5 separate regions of the Homo sapiens genome follow, and all the other regions are linked to region 4. The links are contacts of gene promoters, found by promoter capture Hi-C in blood cells and fetal thymus (Javierre and others, 2016). All regions are on one chromosome and are shown on one strand. The core of a region is centred on a gene start or on the middle of the fragment in contact, and the rest is flanking DNA. Distances in the headings are between cores, read along the strand shown. Region 1 has its middle 13 kb from the start of ARAP3. Region 2 has its middle 52 kb from the start of ARAP3. Region 3 overlaps ARAP3 (ArfGAP with RhoGAP domain, ankyrin repeat and PH domain 3). Region 4 holds the start of PCDH1 (protocadherin 1). Region 5 holds the start of FCHSD1 (FCH and double SH3 domains 1).

The links. The method cuts DNA at HindIII sites, captures the fragments that hold promoters and counts their contacts. A CHiCAGO score of 5 or more calls a contact.
Region 1: a fragment that was not itself captured here is called in contact with the fragment with the promoter of PCDH1 in region 4 in 17 of 17 cell types (endothelial precursors, megakaryocytes, M2 macrophages and 14 more); the score reaches 33.4 in endothelial precursors.
Region 2: a contact is called between a fragment that was not itself captured here and the fragment with the promoter of PCDH1 in region 4, in 6 of 17 cell types (endothelial precursors, M1 macrophages, M2 macrophages and 3 more). The highest score is 10.2, in endothelial precursors.
Region 3: a fragment that was not itself captured here is called in contact with the fragment with the promoter of PCDH1 in region 4 in 17 of 17 cell types (M1 macrophages, M2 macrophages, endothelial precursors and 14 more); the score reaches 10.3 in M1 macrophages.
Region 5: the fragment with the promoter of FCHSD1 here is called in contact with the fragment with the promoter of PCDH1 in region 4 in 12 of 17 cell types (neutrophils, non-activated CD4 T cells, naive CD8 T cells and 9 more); the score reaches 8.4 in neutrophils.

What each region holds. Positions count from the first base shown.
Region 1 is chr5:141,693,040-141,696,860 of GRCh38, reverse strand. No RefSeq gene overlaps it. Among named protein-coding and RNA genes, the nearest start is that of ARAP3, 13 kb to the right of the region's middle. RefSeq lists an enhancer at 3,508-3,821. The HindIII fragment of the contact is 5,323 bases long and covers 1-3,821 here.
Region 2 is chr5:141,732,710-141,736,717 of GRCh38, reverse strand. No RefSeq gene overlaps it. Among named protein-coding and RNA genes, the nearest start is that of ARAP3, 52 kb to the right of the region's middle. RefSeq lists silencers at 1,579-1,779, 1,542-1,836. The HindIII fragment of the contact is 3,536 bases long and covers 1-3,066 here.
Region 3 is chr5:141,667,737-141,671,351 of GRCh38, reverse strand. It overlaps ARAP3 (ArfGAP with RhoGAP domain, ankyrin repeat and PH domain 3), which reads left to right. Exons shown (of 33, transcript NM_022481.6): 13 at 1-87; 14 at 724-840; 15 at 1,289-1,430; 16 at 1,541-1,643. Among named protein-coding and RNA genes, the nearest start is that of ARAP3, 13 kb to the left of the region's middle. The HindIII fragment of the contact is 5,295 bases long and covers 1-3,615 here.
Region 4 is chr5:141,876,469-141,880,047 of GRCh38, reverse strand. It overlaps PCDH1 (protocadherin 1), which reads left to right and starts at 1,638. Exons shown (of 5, transcript NM_032420.5): 1 at 1,638-1,825. The coding sequence starts at 1,786. RefSeq lists enhancers at 1,640-2,389, 2,656-3,340. The HindIII fragment of the contact is 20,024 bases long and covers 1-3,579 here.
Region 5 is chr5:141,649,946-141,653,957 of GRCh38, reverse strand. FCHSD1 (FCH and double SH3 domains 1) reads left to right here and starts at 2,540. Exons shown (of 20, transcript NM_033449.3): 1 at 2,540-2,610; 2 at 2,841-2,938; 3 at 3,554-3,599; 4 at 4,004-4,012. The coding sequence starts at 2,590. ARAP3 (ArfGAP with RhoGAP domain, ankyrin repeat and PH domain 3) reads left to right here. Exons shown (of 33, transcript NM_022481.6): 33 at 1-556. The coding sequence ends at 8. RefSeq lists an enhancer at 3,940-4,012. The HindIII fragment of the contact is 983 bases long and covers 1,884-2,866 here.

The DNA of each region.
Region 1 (3,821 bases), core at 1,124-3,623, 180 kb after region 4:
CTAGTAGTTGTCAGCACTGATACGACGTTCTCCTCCTTCTGGAAAGTTTGACCTATCACACAGCCCCAGGTGGGCTGCTCATGGGCTGGGCTGAGAGGCAGAGGTGTTCTGCCTGGGGATGACAGATGTCCCAACCAGACTACTTTCCCCTTAGGCAATGACAGGTGGGTGTCCGGTCACGGAAGTATCACTGTGCCTGGGATGGTACATTGACTCCTTCCTATAACTGGGGAACAAGTTAGGCCTTGGCCTCAGCTGTGAGAACAAGGAAGGAGGCCAACTTAGCTAACAGACTGGCTGGACAAGAACTTGAACCCAGGTGCTCTACATTGCCCTGGAGCCACACAGTGAGGTGCAGAGCCTGGGGCAGGGTGAGGTCTGCATGGGAGGTGCTGGTGATATGGTCTTGGTGAAGGCAGGGAGAAAGCCCTTTGAAATTCAGGAATACGAAATTTTAAAAACTGCACACAACAAAGAAATTGTTTTTTGCAGCTGTTTTGGCATTTGGGGAGTAATTTACCAACTTCAAGTTCGACTTAATGAAGTTGGGGGTAGGCAGCTTCCATGGGAGCTCTGCTTCCTAGCAATCTTCAGCCGCCCAGCCAGCAAAGAGGGCTGAGCGCATGGTTGCTGGGGAGCATTAACAGTAACACGTTGTGTATTTGTCATCAGAATGGAGCCCCCGGGCACAAGGGTAGTGCCCATGGCTGCTCAATGCTGTATTTGTCATGTGGCCACTGACACAATCAATTGACCCCCTTACACACCGGTGTTTTTTAGCCATTGTATAAATATTTCACCCCTCCCCAGCTGACACATAATCTCTTCTTTGCTGCCTCTGACAAATGAACATTTCTCTGTAGACTCTTAAATGAGTATGTGTCACAGCTATGTCACTGATTAATTTTTTTTACCACTATGAACAACGATGCATAGAAATGCAACTTATATTCATTTCCCGGCTTGAGCCCAGCTGTCTAAAAAATTCCACCAGCAGTTACGACTGACAGACAGCTATCCCAGCGCTTGGGCGTGCTGACATGTGGTTGTGTGAGTGCCAGCTTGTTAATTACCGGCTCTCTCTTCCGGCCTGGCTGCCGAGTAACCAGCCACAAGGACCTTAATCACTGCTGGGGCCTGGAAGGGCCTGCTTCAGAAGGCTCCAGGGGCCAAATCTCAATCAGGCCTAACCACACACAGTTTTTTCCTTCAAGCATTGGCCACCTTTTCTCCTGGGCCCTGGTTTGGGAATGTGCCTGTAGTCACCTCAGTAACACTCACTGCACCCTTAAACCCTTCACCCACCAATCTGTGAGGACAGGGACTCAGTCTTGTTTGCTTGGCACAGGGTGAATGCTCTAGAAATATTCACTGAAATGAAATCAGCTAAGGGGCAATTATTGAACAATATATCAGCCACTTGACATATATTACTCCTTTCATAGTAGGAGCCCCTACTATGCACTGGATGCTTAGCCAATGAGCAAGACAGGTAGACCTTTAGACCTGGGCCCAGAGGAAAAGGTGGCCATCAGTTGGAGAAAAAAATTGAGTGTGTGGTTAGACTTGGGTGGGAGCCGGACCCTGGAGCCGTCTGAGGCAGGTCCTTCCTGGCCCTGTCCGTGATTTAGGTCCTATGGGTGGTTAGTTGGCAGCCAGGCTGCAATGAAGTTTAGGTTCTGGTGGTGAAGGACTAGAGGTTCTAGGGATAGAACTTCTATTTGTAGAGGTGCTATTTGTACCCTGTTTGCAGCTGAGGAAACTGGAGGACAGTTCTCGCCTTTGGCCACATAGCTCATCAGCGGTGGCATTGAAATAAGAGCCTGTGCCTTCTGACTCCAAAGCCTGCACCACTAACCACTCTTGGCCAACCACACTGAGACCCCACTGTCCTTTCCCTCAGCTGCCTCAGTTTCTCCTACACTATAGCTCTCCTTCCCTCCTTCTCCTTCACACTTTCTTCTTCCTGGCAGGCTCTCGAGTCACCTTGGGCTTCAGAGCCGATTCAGCATCCCTGCCCCAGACCGACCCCATCCATCTGCTGCTCCCCCCATCCCCATGCCCCCCACTGACACAGAACCGAGCCTTCAGCAGGTGTCTAGGCTGCCCCTAGCCCGCCCCCAACCTCCATGCACCTGTGTCCTTTCCCTGATGTCATATAACCACTGGCTAGGAGCCAAGAGCATAACACCTGGGGACACTTTTGGTGATTAACTAGCTCCACCATTGCCCACAAGGCTCTCAAGAGACTGAGCGGAGAAATACAGACCCCTCCCCCTCTAAGGCCCAAGCAGACTTGGGCAGCTCTGGAGGCAGGGGCTGCACATCCAAGGAACTGATCCTCCCCATTGCCACATCCATGGAGCCCACAGGAATCAAAACTGTGGATGTATATGGCAAGGTAGAGAGTGTGGAATGGGAGATGGTCTGAATCCCAGTTTCTCTATTTACCGACTATACATCCTAGGGCAAGTTACTTCATTTCTTCTGGGGTTGTACCTTGAAGATGCTAATACCTATTTCACAGAGCTGTTGGGAGGTTGACGAGAGCTCACGTGGGACAGCACCCACCATGGTGCCTACCATATAACAGGTGCACAGTAAACCACAGCATCTTTCTTTCCCTTTTGGCAAGGTTGTGATTCCGACCTATCTTGATTAATCATCTAATCAGAGAAGAAAAGCTGGACAACACACCTACCTATTGATACCTTAGCCCATACTGACCCAGGAGACCCCAGGCACCAAAAGCACTGCCTCTCTTCTTCCCTCCAGGCCTGAGTGGTGTGGAAGGAGAGGCAACTCCTAGGAAGGACGTGAAACTGCTGTGGGTGGGGCTGCCCTTCAATCAGCATCATCCAAAATCATGGCCACTTACAAACATTCAGTCCATGCAGCACTGAACAGAGCACATGTTTATGTGCATTATCTCATTGAAAAGTCACAAAACTCTTTGAGTTAGGTATGACTGGTTTCATTCTACTGACAAAGAAATTGAGGCCTAAAGAGGTTAAGAGAACTGCAAAAAGTCACACAGAGGCAGAGCCAGGACTTCAACCCGGGGTTCACCTTATTCTCAAGATAGTGCTCTTAACTACCGTTGTATGCCACATCCCTCACACCCTCTTCCTCACTATGTCCATCAAGCTCCCAGGGCATTCTGCAGCGAGCGGCTGCAGCAGGCATCACCTTCTCTATGACGTCATTGAGAGCCTGCTCTATCACCTCAGTGGGCCTGCCCCGTCCCACCTACTAGGCCTCAGTGGAGCTAGGGGCAGGGTCAGAGGAAGAAAAAGCTCAGATGACACAGAGCTAGGCTGGGACTGGCACAATAGCAACCCTGGGGAAGGGGCTGATGCAAGAAAGGGGTCCACACAACTGGCCCTTCAGCTGGCTGGTTAGCTGTGCCATCCGCATACATTTCCTTGTTCGAAATGGAGCACTGAGCCCCGGAAATCAGGACAAAAGCACCACCCACAGCTCTGGTCTCGATGACTCAGATTCCACCTCCCACAGCCTCCTCCTGTGTGTGTTTCTGAATGCGTGTGTACCCGCGCGTGCGCCCCTCCAGCGCGTGAGGCTGTCAGCTGTGTGTGTGTGTGTGTGTGCGCGCGCATGTACAGAGATGAGCACACATGTGCACATGGCTGAGCTGGGTCCACCTGCATATCTCTGTCTCCAAGCCCGAGTTCTCAGAATACGATGACCCACAGGGTCAGTGATCATCATAACATTGATAGCCACATGCTTCCCATGCTCGGGCTGTGTGCCAAGCACTTTACACGCAGTGCAGCATAGAGTCTTTACCGCAGCCTTATTAG
Region 2 (4,008 bases), core at 49-2,548, 140 kb after region 4:
GAGAATTTCTTGCTAAAAGCACTGGGAAGCCATGAGAGTGATTTGGGCAGAGGATGGCACTATCTGATTTACATTTTAATTTTGCTCAGATAATAAAAATCTTGGTCTAGTTCTGGCTTCACAAGTTACTCAATGTGAGATCTTGAGCCAGTTGCTGCATTTCATTAAACCTCAGGTTCTTTAAGAACTTCTTGGGGTGTCAGAAGAACATGAGTTAACTTGCATGTCTAGCTCAGAGCCCAGCATTGATAGCTGCACAATCAATGCACCACTTTGTCTCTCTTCCCTCTGCCTTTCTTCTCAGCCCCAGCCTCTCCCCCGCTGTCACACACTAAGTAAACCCCAGGGCCTAGCTGGGATCTCAGAGTGGAAGGAAGGGGTCTCATCCACAGGCATCAGGACCAGCTGAGGTAGGCCCAGTGTTCCCCTCACCAGTGCCCGACCATTTGAGGAACCACTCCTCAGGGTCGCAGGAGATCAGACCCTGCAGGTACACCAAGGGGCTGCATGCTGCCAGGGAAGTGGCCAGGATGTCTGGGCCAATTTGCATGCAGACACTATGCATTTGCCTGTATTTCCATGCCATTTGCTACACCAAAATGGCAGGCCCAGCATGCAGGGGAAAGGTTATCACTGCTACCTGAGGTCATGCTCCTTTACACTTACCTGCATTCCTTCCCTGTACTTTGCATGCAACCTTTGATCCCAGAAGTTGCCTGGGGGAGAACTAGGAGGAAAGGGAAGTTGGAGGGAGCCAATAAGGAAGGCAGTTTGGAGACTAAGCCAGGGCTGCGAGCAGACAGGGTGAACCTCACTTCTCCCAGGACCTGGGCCCACACTGCTGGCTCCAGAGTGAGTAAAAGGTGGCTGCCTGAGATAGAATCCTCCCAGCAGCTGCCTAGGTAGCCACATATCCACTTGACTGGCCTCAGGGGACAAGGCACTTCTCCTGCCTCCCTCCTAGCACTGGGACCCACAGAAAGGATCTGATGAGGTTAATTAATTGCTTGTAAAAATTTCTTTGGAAGGAAAAGAGCCATCATGTCTGGGAGCCAGAGGATGGCAGCAGCAAAGTCCTACCAGTTAGGACAGGGGTGCAAAGGGCAGGGCTGTGATGGTGCCAGGAAAGGAAGGGAGTGGGACAGCAGAAGGAAGGGACATGGGACAAGTCTCAGAGAATAGCCTCAGGGAAGCCTCTGATCCTGGAATGTTTGGGGAGCCCACAGCCGGAGAGAGTTTGGTTGGGCAAGGGTGGTAAGGCTCAGGCTGTCTCGTCCCAGTGCCTGAGAGAAGAGGAAAGAGAAACACAACCCGAGCTGGAGAATCTTCCTCCCCTTCCTCACCAGGATGCTCTTCCTCTTCCTTCCCACTGGATGAGTCTGAAGCCAAGGGCTCCCACATCAAGCCTCCCCCCCACCACCGCCCACCCTGACCTCTGGAAGATCCTCTCTTTTCATTCTTTTGGGGCTCAGTATCCCCTCACTGAGTCTCCCATGTGAGAGACCCTCCTTTTTCACATCCAGTCTCTCAAAAATTCCTGTAGCCCTGACAAGGCCCTCAACTATATCCTGAACTTTATATGTAGGTTCACTGTAACTCAGCATCTCCATCATAGCCAGAGGCATTGAAATAGGGCAGGCTGGAAACAGGCAGAGAAACTGGTGCTGCGGGAACCCAGGGGTGCTGACCAAGGTCCTGAACAGCCTCAATTCCTGTTACACAGGAACTTCACAATGCTCCTTGTGCAACCTATGGTCCCATCCCTGCCCACACACCCATCCTGGCTCCACCTCCAAGGCTTCATCCTCAATGTGAATCATATAAGGGATGGGGATGATCAGGGAGCTGATCTCGATGAGCTCCTTCAGGTTACAAGCCAGCCCTCCCTACAGAGCTGCAGCCTCTGCCCCTCCCTTTTTGTCCTTAACACTGGCTCTGTCTGTTCTGCCAGCCTTGTCAAGGACAGCCCCTGCAATCTGACCACACAGCAGCTGGTAGGGCCTGGGGCTGCACTTGACATCCTGATCCAACCATATTCTCAGAGAGAAAACAGGTTGGGAGTTCCGCATGCTTGCACACACCTGCACATATCATGCACACGCTCACACTCTCAATGTCAGCCTAGACTAGAGAAGTGGTTCTTAGATTTCTTGGGTCATGGATTATCTGGCTGTAATCTCCTCAGAAAAAAAGATGCATATACCCAACCCTTTGCACATCCCATCAAGAGGGCCTGGGATAGGGGTGTCCTTCCTGATTCCTGCCCTCCACTGTAAAACTTGCCCAGGGAGTGGGACTCTACCAAGAAGATGTTCTCTGGGAAGATGCACTGAGTTTGGGCACTCCCCAGGAGTAGTGCCAGTGGGGCTGGGCTGAGGTGCAAGAGGAATCAGAACAATCTCCAAGGCCACCTCCAGCTGTCAAACACAAGGACTCAGTGGTTCTGTACCACACATGCCTCTTGCTAACCAATGCAGTCAAGGCATCATCCACTCTGCTTTGATCTTCTTGAATCAAGACAGATGAGCTCTGAGCTCCTGGTGTCTACCTGAGTCATTGCACAGTCTGACCAAGTTTTTGCCATTTACAGTGAGCCCCAACCACATAGATGAGGAAACAGGGCTCTGCCTGGCTTCAAATCTTCCTGTGACCAACCATAGACCAACTTCTTTGGGTTCAATGCACACACCTGTAGACTGTGCACATGCATGCACTGACATGCAAGGCACACATGCTCACAGGTCAGGACACACACACAAATCATGCAAGAGCATACAGAAACACATGAATCATAAAAACAGGCTGAAACATGCAAAACTCCGAAAAGCACATGCATGTATAAACTTCACATACATATAATCACAGTCATGCAAACCATATGGACACACATACATGCTCTAAAATGTAACCCCCCATTCCCACCTCCTAGGGAATATTCCAACCCCACTAAACTTTTCATTTCTCTCTGCCATGGCCTCTAACTCCCCCTTGCCTTTGTGTAATCTGTTCCTTATGATGGAATCATTCTTCCCTTCTTTTCCTCACATGGTGGATTCTTAGTAAGCTTCTATATGAGGTACCCGGGGTTGCCATAAAAATTACTACAGACTGGGTGGCTTTAAAACAGCAGAAATTTATTCTCTCACACTTCTGGAGGCCAGAAGTCTGAAATCAAGGTGTCAGCAGGATTGGTTACTTCCTGGAGGCTCAGAGAGAAAATCTGTTCCATGTCTCTCTCTGAGTGCCAGAAAGGTTCTTACCCTTGTCTGAGTGCACTAGGAGGGGCAAAAGGCAGTCAATTGTGGTCTCCCGCCCTCAAGAGCTTCCGGTGGCTGCAATCCTTGGTTTGTAGACACATCACCCCAATCTTACCTCTGTGGTCACATAGCATTCTTCCTGTGTCTGTGTCTGTGTCCCCTCTTCTTAGAAGGACACCAGAGTCTTTCAATTAGGGTGCACACTAATCCAGTGTGACTTCATCTTAACTTGATGACATCTGCAAAGACCCTATTTCTATATAAGGTCACATTGACAGGTACTGGGAGTTAGGACTTGAATATATTTTGGAGGGAGTGGGACACAATTTAACCCTCAACAGACTAAGTCTTTGCCAACTTTTCCTTTCTCCATGAGTTCTTCCCTGATCTGTCTCCCTAGACTGGTTAAAGTCAGGGCCTCTGGCATGTGCTCCCCCATCATGGCACTTAGCTCACTTATTATTATCACTTCTTTAATGGTCTCTCTTCCCAGCTCTGAGGGGCTAGGGCTGTCCATTTCTTACTCACCATCATATCCCCAGCACCTGGCACAGTGCCCAGCTGTGACAGGATCTCAATAAATGCCTGTTGAATTAATTAAACCATTTATTCACATAGTGCCATACATGAACCATAATTCACATGCATGAGCACAGATACCTTACATATGTGTGCAAACATGTAAATCAAGGGTACACACAGACACATGAAATCTATATACAGTGTACACATACATGCCAGGCCCTGAATA
Region 3 (3,615 bases), core at 168-2,667, 210 kb after region 4:
AGCTCCTCTGTGTTGAGGCCTTTGAAGGCGAGGAGCCCTGGTTCCCCCCAGCCCCTGATGGCAGCTGCCCTGGCCTCTTGCCCTCAGGTCATTCCCCCAAGTGCCTCCTCTCTCCCCTACAGGAATTCTCAGACCCAACCTATGATTCAGTTCTTCCAAGGGGCCCCAATTAGCTGATCACAATGGCCCAGCCTGGGCAGTTTCCCAAACCCTCAGATCCTCCAGGGCCTATCTCCTGATGTCATGTGATAGCTGATGACGGTCATGGCTGGGGAGGGTCTGGGTGTTCCAGGTGCTAGTGCTGGTCCACCCCTGACAGGGCCGACCCATAGGTCAGGACTAGTCTCCCTGGAGACAGTGTGATCTCTCAAAGAAGTGATCAGCTTAGTGACACTCATCTCCATTGGTCAGGCCAGGGGGCTGAGACCCTTACAGGATGGTACATGCCCTGAGGTGCTCACCCAGAGCTAAGAGCCTGGTTGGCTGGCTGGTAGGGAGAGGCAGTGGGCAGGGGCTGGGCCAGAGGCCTCCCTGTCTCATTACCCCCTGCCTCTCTCTTCTGCAATCTGGGTAGTGAGGGATCCAGCTCCATTGGGCTCTACTTGGCTGTGCTGGCAGTGGAGTCAGGTCCCACTGTCTTTCTCCATTTCATCCCTTCCCCAGAGGGGGTCAGGTTATCCCGTTGCACTTGGTTGACCTGACTACTTCCCCTTCCCCTTGCAGACCCCTCCCCTGGTGTGTACAATGAGGTGGTGGTGCGTGCTACTTACAGCGGCTTCCTGTACTGCAGTCCCGTCAGCAACAAAGCTGGACCCTCACCCCCTCGCAGGGGCCGGGATGGTGAGGGGGAGCCAAGGGATGGGAGGATACAGGGACAGAAAGTGGATGGGTGTGAGGGTACTGCAGAGGGACAAAGAGGAGAGGGCTGGGATGGGAAAGTGGGGCCATGCCTGGGAATGGGCTGGGGTCCTGGGGGTGAGAGAGGGACCATGCCAAGTGGCAGCATTGGGTGATAGTTAAGAGCATCTGTTCTGAAGTCAGACTGTCTGGGTCAAATCCCAGCTCTGCTACTTCCTACCTATGTGTCTTGGGCAAGCTACTGAAACTGAGCCTCAGTTTCCCCATCTGCAAAACAGGACTGAGTATAACACCTCATAGGGTTATTGTGAAGATTACATGGGATCATATATGGGCAAAGGGCTTGGCACAGAATAAATATCTGGTAAACTGGAACTATGACAGTGGGGGCAGAGGTCTGCTGCTCCCTGACTATCTCCCTCTGCCTTAGCTCCCCCGCGCCTTTGGTGTGTGCTGGGAGCAGCTCTGGAAATGTTTGCATCGGAAAACAGCCCTGAACCCCTCAGCCTCATACAGCCCCAGGATATTGTATGTCTGGGTGTGAGCCCCCCACCCACTGACCCAGGTGACAGGTAATAGCCCTTCTGTGACCACTGAGCTTCCCCCTTTTCTCTTCCCAACCTCCAGCCTGACAGCCCTCTCATTGGTCCCATCCTCCTCCCTGACCTCATCTTCTCTCCAGGTTCCCCTTTTCCTTTGAGCTCATCCTCGCTGGGGGGAGGATCCAGCATTTTGGCACAGATGGAGCTGACAGTCTGGAGGCCTGGACTAGTGCTGTGGGCAAGGTGAGACAGGAGAGCGCCCTCTGCAGCATCTCATGCTTTCCTTGTCCCCACGTGCTCCCATCTTCTCCTCTCTTATTCCTACAGCCACTTCTTCCACTAACAGCTAAGGGTGACTGAGCACATATTCTGTGCCAGGCCCTGTGTTAAGCACTGCCCACTCGATATCTCATTTAATTTTCACAACCACTCTCTGAGGTGAGGTTTTAAGTATAAGGAAACTAAGTTTTAGAGTTTACGAATTCACTTGGTCAAGGTCACAGAGCTAGGAGGCAGCAGAGCACAGGACTAAAATTCAGGCCTCTGTCTGCAAAGCTCACGGCCCAAACCTCACTGTGCCAATGCCTCCTCCCACGAAGAAGCTGGCTCTGATTCCCACTACCCACCCTCTGCTCCAGTTTTCCAGCAGGCCCGGAGGCAAAGCTACCTTCATATTTCCCAGCTTCTCCATTCTTAGATAAGCCAGTATCTCTCTCCTGTATGCCATTCCCAAAACTGAAAATTCAGGCCCTGGAGTCAGACATCCTGGGATTTGAGTCACAACTCTCAGCCTTGTGAGCTTTTCCACATCTGTAGGGTGGGCGTAAAAGACTCACCCCCTAGGGTTGAGGATTAAATGACATGTGAGGCCCACACACAGCAAGCCCTCAGTATGTGGGCGTTGAAATAATAATGATGGTAGTGATGATGACGATGATGACGACAGTCTCTCCCATCCTAAGACAGCTTTTCCCTAAGATCTGTTCCATCTTCAACTTTTCACCCTGGTGCCTTCCTTTCCCTCCTGACAATGCGTCAGAAAGTCGTGTGCAGCCTGCAGTTCCCCTTTGACCCCTTGCAGCTACCCTCCTCTGCCCATGCCCTCCTGAACTGCTACCTGGCAGGTCACCAGTGCCTTCCCATTTCCAAAGGCCAAGGCTGCCTCCCAGCCTCACCAGGTCATCTCTGCAGCATCCGGCACTCCTGTATGGGAAATGCTCCACTGCTCTGGCTTTTGACCCCCTTCTCCCAGGTCTCCTACAACTCCTCACACTAACACATTGTCTCCATATCTTTTCAGGGCTCTGTCGTGGCCCTCCCAACCAGGTTTAAGTCTCCTCTCATTATTATCTACACTTTCCAAAAAGCTATCCCATCCTTTAAGGCAGTGCTACCCGGAGGGTGCTGTGAAGACTGTCACACCATACTAGCCCCTGGACTATGTGTTATGGTCCATGACAGGATAAGCACAGAACTTGAGAGTAAGCATTTAGAATATTTTATAGCAATTTGACATAGTAATTTTATGTGTTGAATCTAATTATAAAAAAAGGGCTTGGGCCAGGGGTGGTGGCTCACACTTGCAATTCCCAGCACTTAGGGAGGCTGAGGCGGGAGGATTGCTTGAGCCCAGGAGTTTGAGAGCAACCTGGGACCCTGTCTCTACAAAAAATAAGAATTAGCCAGGCATGATGGTGCTCACCTATAGTCCCAGCTACTGGGGAGGCTGAGGTGGAAGGATTGCTTGAGCCTCGGAGGTTTGAGCCTACAGTGAGCTGTGATCATGCCACTGCACTCCAGCCTAAGTGAGGCCCTGTCTCAAAAAAAAAAGCGGGTCGGGTTGTATTCTTCATTTTTTCATCCAGATTTTCTAGCAACTCATTTTTATTATTATTATTATTTTCTTTTTGAGATGGAGTTTCGCTCTTGTCTCCCAGGCTACAGTGCGGTGAAGAGATCTTGGCTCACTGCAACCTCCGCTTCTTGGGTTCAAGCGATTCTCTTGCCTCAGCCTCCTGAGTAGCTGGGACTACAGGCGCACATGACCTCGCCCGGCTAATTTTTGTATTTTTGGTAGAGATGGGGTTTCACCATGTTGGCCAGGCTGGTCTCGAACTCCTGACCTCAGGTGATCTGCCTGCCTCGGCCTCCCAAAGTGCTGGGATTACAGGCTTGAGCCACCGCACCTGGCCACTTATATTATTTTTAATGAAAA
Region 4 (3,579 bases), core at 389-2,888:
GCAGCGGGCACACGCTGGGGGCAGGGAGACCGGGGCAGCTCTTCTGTGGAAGATTTCTTCTCTCTGGGCCACTGATTCCCTCCTCGGAGCTGTGCTCAATGATGTGGAGAGTATGAGCTTTCTAGAGACAGAAAGAAGCTACTTACAGAACAGACCCACCCCCCTCTTTCACCAGATTACCCCATCTCCCATCTAGAGCCCTGCCCCTGGGCTCCTGGGGCTGAGGGATAGAGCAGAGCCCAGGTCAGAAAAGGAGTCCAGTTAAGCAGGGCTGCTCTGGGAGAGATCTTGGACAGACTTTGCTTGCCCTCTTAGCTAACCAGAGATTCCACTTTTACCCTGAAGAGCATCCCACCGAGAGAGGCCAGAGCTGAGAAGAGAAGGAAGTAGAAGAAAGAGGAAAGGCACAGAAGAGTGGTAGGAACAGGAAAATGGGGAAGGACAGAGATGGGGAGTCAGAGGCTATGGCAAAAAGAGGCCCAACAACTGGTCATCCCATAACAAGAGCCTTTCCTCACCCAGCACTAGGCCTGGCTAGGGATAACCTTCCTCATTCTTTTGACCTAGAACACTCTGCCTGGGCCTGCAGGCGAAGAAGGCAGGAGGTCCTGTTGAACTGGGACACTTGGTAGCCTGGGTTACCAAACCGCAAGCGCAGGAGAGGGAGTTCCCAAGCTACTCAGAGACCTCTAGATGGCGCCAGAGAGCCAGAGCTGAATGGGAGAAACCGAGTATTGGAGTGTGTGAGACACTGCGTGTGACACCGTGTGTGATTTGGTGTGAGTGTGATAGGGAGCGTGTGGCACTGCGAGGGCGTGTGACACAGGCCGTGACACTGCGCGGCCTCGCGGGGCAGGGACCCGGTGACTGTATAATGTAAGTCACTGGCAAATACGTGTGGCCGCAGCACTACGCCGTGCAGAGGGCAGGTGATCAGGGGACCCTCGAATAGCCTAAGCTCAGGAGCAGCACTTCGTCTTCACGCTTGTGTATCTTCCCCATCCTCACTCTAGAGCCCCCGGGTCCCATTAGCCTCCTCCTCCCACGGTCCCCTCCATAGCCCCACCCCCACGGCTTGCTGCGGCCACCGAGGCTGACCGCTCTGCGGCTTCGGCCGGAGGGGGAGGGGTGGACTTTCCCCGAGCGCAGCGGGAAGGGAGGGCCACACAGGGCGATCGGGGATCTGGGCGGGAAGAGGGTGGATATGGAGGAGCAGGTGCCCAGGGAAGAAGGCGCTGTGGGAGACACTTCCCTTGCCTCGACTTCCCAGGGGGCAGACAGAGCTGGGGACAGGTGTTTGAGTAGGGTAAGGAGGGGAATCCAGGAGCGGTCCTAGATGGAGGCTTGGGTGGGATAAGTGTAAGGTGAAGCTCAGAGGAGGGCACGGCCTGTGTACTGGGCCTCGGGCAGTGAAGAGATGGCAGAGGGAGGGGTCCAGGCTTTGGGGAGCGGTGCTCGGGGTCCCCTCCCAGCCGGACCGGAGCGGTCCCGAGCTCCACCTCCCGGCCGGAGGGGGGGCGGGGAGGCGGGCGGGCCGGGAGGGAGGGGGGAGGGAGGGGGCGGGCCGGGCTGTGCGCTCCGCTCTCTGCTGGCTCCGCCGCCGCCGCCGCCGCCGCCGCCGCCGCCGCCGCCGCCTCACACACTCGGGGAGCGGGAGCGCGGCGCGGACGCAAAGCCGCCGGGCTGCTGCGCCCAGAGCCAGCCGGAGCCGGAGCCGGAGCCCGAACTGCAGCTCCAGCCCCAGCCGTGCGGAGCCGCAGCCCAGGCCGGGGCCGGCGGCGGCTCATGGACAGCGGGGCGGGCGGCCGGCGCTGCCCGGAGGCGGGTAAGGATCCGGCGGCGGTGGAGGCAGCAGCGGCTTGGGGCCCGAAGCGGTCATGGCCGGCGGGAGCTGAGGGAGGGGCGCTCGGCGGAGCGAGGCCGCGGGGGCCCAACACGAGCTCGGCGCGAGGGGGCTGAGGTGGGGGCTGCTGGGAGCCCATAGCAGGGGATGCGGCTGAGGGATTCCGTCCTCCCAGGTCCGCGGCGAGAAGCCGAGGGAGGGGAGGGGGTGCTGAGCAGAACCCTAGTCCCCGCGTCCCAAACCTGGGCGCGCTCGGAGAGACGGGGATAAGGAGACTCCAGGAGCGCGCGGCGTGGAGGATGGGTTTGGGGAAGCGCGCGGCCCCCAGTTTGGTGGGGGTCTCCCGGAGGACGGAGCAAGCAAGGACCGTTGTCCACAACACATACATACACACTTGTTGGGCAACTACCTCGGCTCACTCAGCCGCTTCCAGCTTCTCGCGGGCACCCAGAGGGCCAGACCGTGGACATATATACACACATACATACATCCCTGCATATGTGCACACAGACATACCTCCCGCACACCAGCGCCCACTGGGGCACCGTCGCCAGCTCAGAATCCGCTTCAGTGTCTGCACGATCAGCAGCACCGACACACAACCCGTGGCTTTACAGAGCAATAACACAACCGGGTGTGACACCCCGCGACGTGGACACACAAACACAATCTCGTGCCCTCATGTACGAGTGTCACAGCCACAGTTCACTAGATGAACCCTCAAAACCTAGCCACCCCCCACATTCCTTTAAGGAACACACCCTAGCATATATCATCTTACCCACTTCTTGGCCAGAACATAGGTACACAGCACAGGTCTCCTTGCACCCCTCTACTGCACCCACACAAACACACAACCCAGTATCTCAGCACACGCTTGATGGCACACACTCTAACACAGGAATTGGCACCTACAGCAGCGCCTCACGGTCACAAACACAGAATCCACTGCTTCACCCATCTTAACACTGGGTGTCACACACACCTTAAACCAACAGTGTCACATTACATTACACCCTGCAGCGCATACACACAAACACACACACTCCGTTCCTCTCTCTCGGAGTCCAGATTCAGGCAGGAGAAGCCGCCGGGGTCGTTCGGCGAGCCCCAAGCGCCCCGCCACGTTAATCGCGACATTATTATTGTAAATATCGGCACAGCGGGAAGGCTGGGCCGGCCTGCCGGCTTCCCAGTCGGCGCCTCCCCAACCCCCACTCCCGGGCCGAACCGGCTGGTGTTCCGGGAACAAGCTGGACCTGGCTGGCCAAGCCATCCCGCCTCCCCGGAGCTCTGGGGCCCCAGGTTCCTTTGTAGAGGGTGCTAGCCTGGGACGGTGATTGCGACCCTCTTCCAGCCATTTAGCTGAGTTTTCTGAGCCACCTGGGTCTCCAGCACACCTGGGTCCCACACACCTTGGTGGGTCCCGCACACCTGGGTTCGTCTCACACCTGAGCGCCCCCTCCGCCTGGTCCCCGCTGTAGGCCAGTGTGTGCGCGGGCAGGCCCTGGAGCCAGAACGGAGATCGCGGCAGGCATAGGAGCAGAATTTGTAGGCGAGGTGGTCTCGCACCCCTTCCCCCCAGCTACCCTCTGTAAGTCAGAATTCTGGCCTCAGTTTCCCCAACAGTGGTCGGCTACTATTTCTTCTGCCAGGAAAGACTGGGGGCGGCACTGAGGCCTTGGAGGATTGAGCGTAGGGCAAAAAACCCCCTCTGCTCGCCACGAGAGGGTCGG
Region 5 (4,012 bases), core at 1,291-3,790, 230 kb after region 4:
TCACATGACCCTAGGACCAGCAGTCTGAGAGGGTAGGTACCAGAAGACCCAGAAACTCTTATCGTGGCACTGTTGCAGCTTCCTCTGCCCTGGCTGGAAAGACTCCAGAATCCAGTGTGGTGCTGTGGAAGGAGCACTGGACTAAAGGCTTCAGTGGCTGCGTGTCCCAGGACAGGTCATGGCCCCTCTCTGGGCCCAGCCCATTTATCTATACCATGAGGTAACTGAAGTAAGGAGAGCAGTGAATGTCAAACTGTGTTTCTTAGAGCCATAAGCCCCACATATTATCCCTGAACAAGGGCAGCTCCTGCTTTATATATTTGATACGTAGGGGTTCCATGAGAGATTTTGGGTTTTAAAGGAATGGTTTTACTGCATTAAAGAAAAAAAATGCTTTGGAAACCAGAGGCCTGGGTGATGTTAAAGTCTATCCTGTCCCACTTCCTACATTCTGGGACTACCGTGAAGCCTGGAGTAGGGAGAGCGAGTTTGGGAGCTGGGACTCGGGGAGTCAAAAATAGATGAGTAATTGTCAATAAACCTGGGAACCAAAAGACTACCATTCTCATTCATTCATTCAACAAATATGTATTGTGCACCTAATTGGTGCCAGGTCTGGGGATATAGCATGAACAAAACAAACAGGGCCCCTGCTCTTATGAATCCTCCGTTGTGGAGGGGAACAGAAAATAGCAAATAAACACATAAACCAGTACTTGAACAAGTGAGTTTAGTGCTGTGAAGAAACTGAACCAAAGTGATGAGCTTGAAGAGTGATTGTGGAGGCCAGGCGCAGTGGCTCACACCTGTAATCCCAGCACTTTGGGAGGCTGAGGGGGATGGATTACCTGAGGTCAGGAGTTTGAGACCATCCTGGCAAAGATGGTGAAACCCTGTCTCTACTAAAAATACAAAATTAGCTGGTTGTGGTGGCACGTGCTTGTAATCCCAGCTACTCGGGAGGCTGAAGCAGAAGAATCACTTGAACCTGGTAGGTGGAGGTTGCAGTGAGCCGAGATTGCACCATTGCACTCCAGCCTGGCAACAGAGCAAGACTCCATCTCAAAAAAAAAAGAGTGATTGTGGAGATGGTCTTTGGATGGGTGGATGGGGAAGGCATCTGTGAAGAGTTGCAAAGTAAGGGAAAGAAGCTGTTGGAGGCGACAGATGGAACGCTGGAAGGAGGAGATTCTGGAGAAAGAAAGCAGGCATGAAGAACTCTGCATTGGAAGGGACTTGGTCTACTGAGGGAACAGCAAAGAGGCTGGAGCACAGTGAGCAGACAGTGGGAGGAGAGTACAGGCTGAAGTAAGAAAGACCAGCAGGGTCTTCCATGCGTAGCCTTGAAGGCCATGGATTCTATTTGGATTTTATTCTGAAGCAAGTGCATTTTAAGCAAGTAAATTATGAGATCTTATTTCCCTTTAAAAAAGAAAAAAAAGGTTGATCACTCTGAGTGCTGTGTGAACAGTGGGTTGGGGTGAGGGCAGTGTGGAAGCAAGGAGATCAGATATTAGACCAGAAGTCTAATAATGGGGGCTTGGACTAGGATGGTGGTCTTGGAAATTGAGGGAAGTGGATCAAGAGGTTTTTGTTTGTTTATTGTTGTTTGAAATAGAACCTGTAGGACTTACTGATGGATAGAATGTAGGGGTAGGAGAAGGCACATTGACTCTGGGTTTCTGACTTAACTGACTGGAGGAAATGCGGTGCCATTTAAAACGTTACGGGGGGAGGATCAGGTTGAAGGAGGTTTAAAAGCTTTAAAAGTTGAGGTTCCTATTAGATATACTAGCAGAGGTGTCAGTGGGGAGTTGGAATGTGAATCTGGAGTTTTGAGACATGTCAGGGGTACTGGGACAGGTGCCTGAGCCAAAGAAGCTTAGGTGAGGAGGATGAGGAATTGGGGAGAGGCTCCTCAGGAAGCAGTGCTAGGGCTGGAAGATCCTAAAGGTGGCAGGGGCTTCCTGCGCATCTCCCAGCTCTCGCCGACTCACTGGTATCGTTTAGTTTTCAGTGGGGCCAAGTCTTTTTCCCTTTGGGCCTGGTTCCTTCCTGGATCCAGGCATCTTTCTCACCCCGCTCACGCTGGCTTTTCCAGTTAAGCGGGAATTAGGAAAAGGTCTGGGACCAGCCCTCTCTTCGTCAGATGCATCTTTGCTCAGGTGCCCAGTGACTCAGTTTCCCTGGTCACACACTGAATTCCTCTCCATTCCTCATCATTAGCTCGGGGACTGGGGATCTACATATGCAAATGAATAATTATCAATAATTACAGGCTGAATCAGTGGTTACACTACAAATAGAACTTAGGCGTCTTGACTCAGATGCCTGGGGTTCTTCCCACCGCCCAGCGGACGCTGCGTCCGCCCCGCCCGCCCCGCCACCCGGACCCTGCCGGCGTATTCGCAGCAGTAACAGGTTTAGTTTCTCGGTGGCCCCCTCTCGCTTCCGCGCCCTGCGACGTCGCCGGACAAGTCGTGGGCGGGCAGAGGGCGGGGCCTGACCTGGCCTGGGGCGGGGCTCCATAGTGGGCGGGGCTTCCTCCAGTTCCGGAGTCCAGTGGCTGACCGCCTTGCTGGAGCGGAGATGCAGCCGCCGCCCCGAAAAGTGAGCTTGGCCCTGAATGGGGACTCCTGGCGGGCTGGGGGAACGGAGGGAGCTAAGGGGGCATCCGACTTGTGGTAGGAGACGGGAAGTCGGAAGGGGTCAGACCCCAAACCAGAAGTAACAGAGGAAAGAGCTCAGCACCCCCCCGGCCCCGCCCCCTCACCGCTCCCTGCGCGGAGTGTTTTTTAGGTCCTTGCGCTGGGGTCTTCATCCTCTCTTTGCCCCCACAGGTGAAGCCGGCCCAGGAGGTGAAGCTTCGCTTCCTGGAACAGCTGAGCATCCTTCAGACCTGGCAGCAGAGGGAGGCGGATCTGCTGGAGGACATCAGGTAGCTCCCCCAACCCCCTTCATTTACACTCACCTTCGTCGTTGTGCGCCACTTCTCCCCAATATACATGTGCTGGGGTGGAGGAACAGGGGCCAAGAGCTCCCCAGCCGACCCATCCACAGCCCTCACCCTAGGCCTGGCCTCTCCAGATACTGGATAGGAATGCTCCCCCACCTAACCCCTCCCAACCCCCTCCCACCCACATAAACACACAGGAACCCTCCCTCAAAGCCCTTGACTCCACACCACTGCCCCCAACCCCACAATCAACCTTAGGGCAGAATCCCTCTCCCTCTTCCAGACCTGTTGGAAGGCTGGCAGACATCGTACCCAGGCCCCCATCAGTCTTCACCTCTAAGCCTACAGATGAACCTCTGGGGTGGGGAGGATCCTGCTGGGGCCCGGGGCAGTAAGGTGAGGGTTTCCTGTGTTGCAGCTGCCCGAGGTGATCTCAAGGACTCCCATCAGTCCCATTCCCTCTGGGTGTAGTTACACTCTAGGAACCTGGCTCCCCCCAACCGCTCCCTCCTGCCCAGAGTAGAGGACTGAGGATGGGAGAACAGGACCAAACATAACCTTATCCCCCACCTCACCCCCGACCTGCAATCTCCGCAGATCCTACAGCAAGCAGAGGGCAGCCATTGAACGGGAGTATGGGCAGGTATGGGACTTTTCTCTGGACCTTACCTCTTGTTCCAGCCTCTCTTATATCACCAGTAATGTCTGTCCATACCTATCCCTATTGTGGTCAAGAGCAGATGCCTAGAGTCAAGCAGACTGGTGTCAGATCCCTGCTGTGTAATTATAGCCATGTGACCTTGGACAAGTTACTTAACCTTTCTTGACCTCAGTTTCTTTCTCTGTGAAATGGGAATAATAATAATACCTTACCTTCATGTAGGGTTGTTGTAAGGATTAAACAAATTAATGACTATAAGGCATTTAGCAAAGCAAGTGGCACATAATGTACCCAAAGAATGGTATGATTATACTCTGATGTCATATTCTGCCAGTTGGGGTGGGTCTTTGAAAGGGAACTTGGTTCTGTGATGGCTTTTTCACCAGGCACTCCAG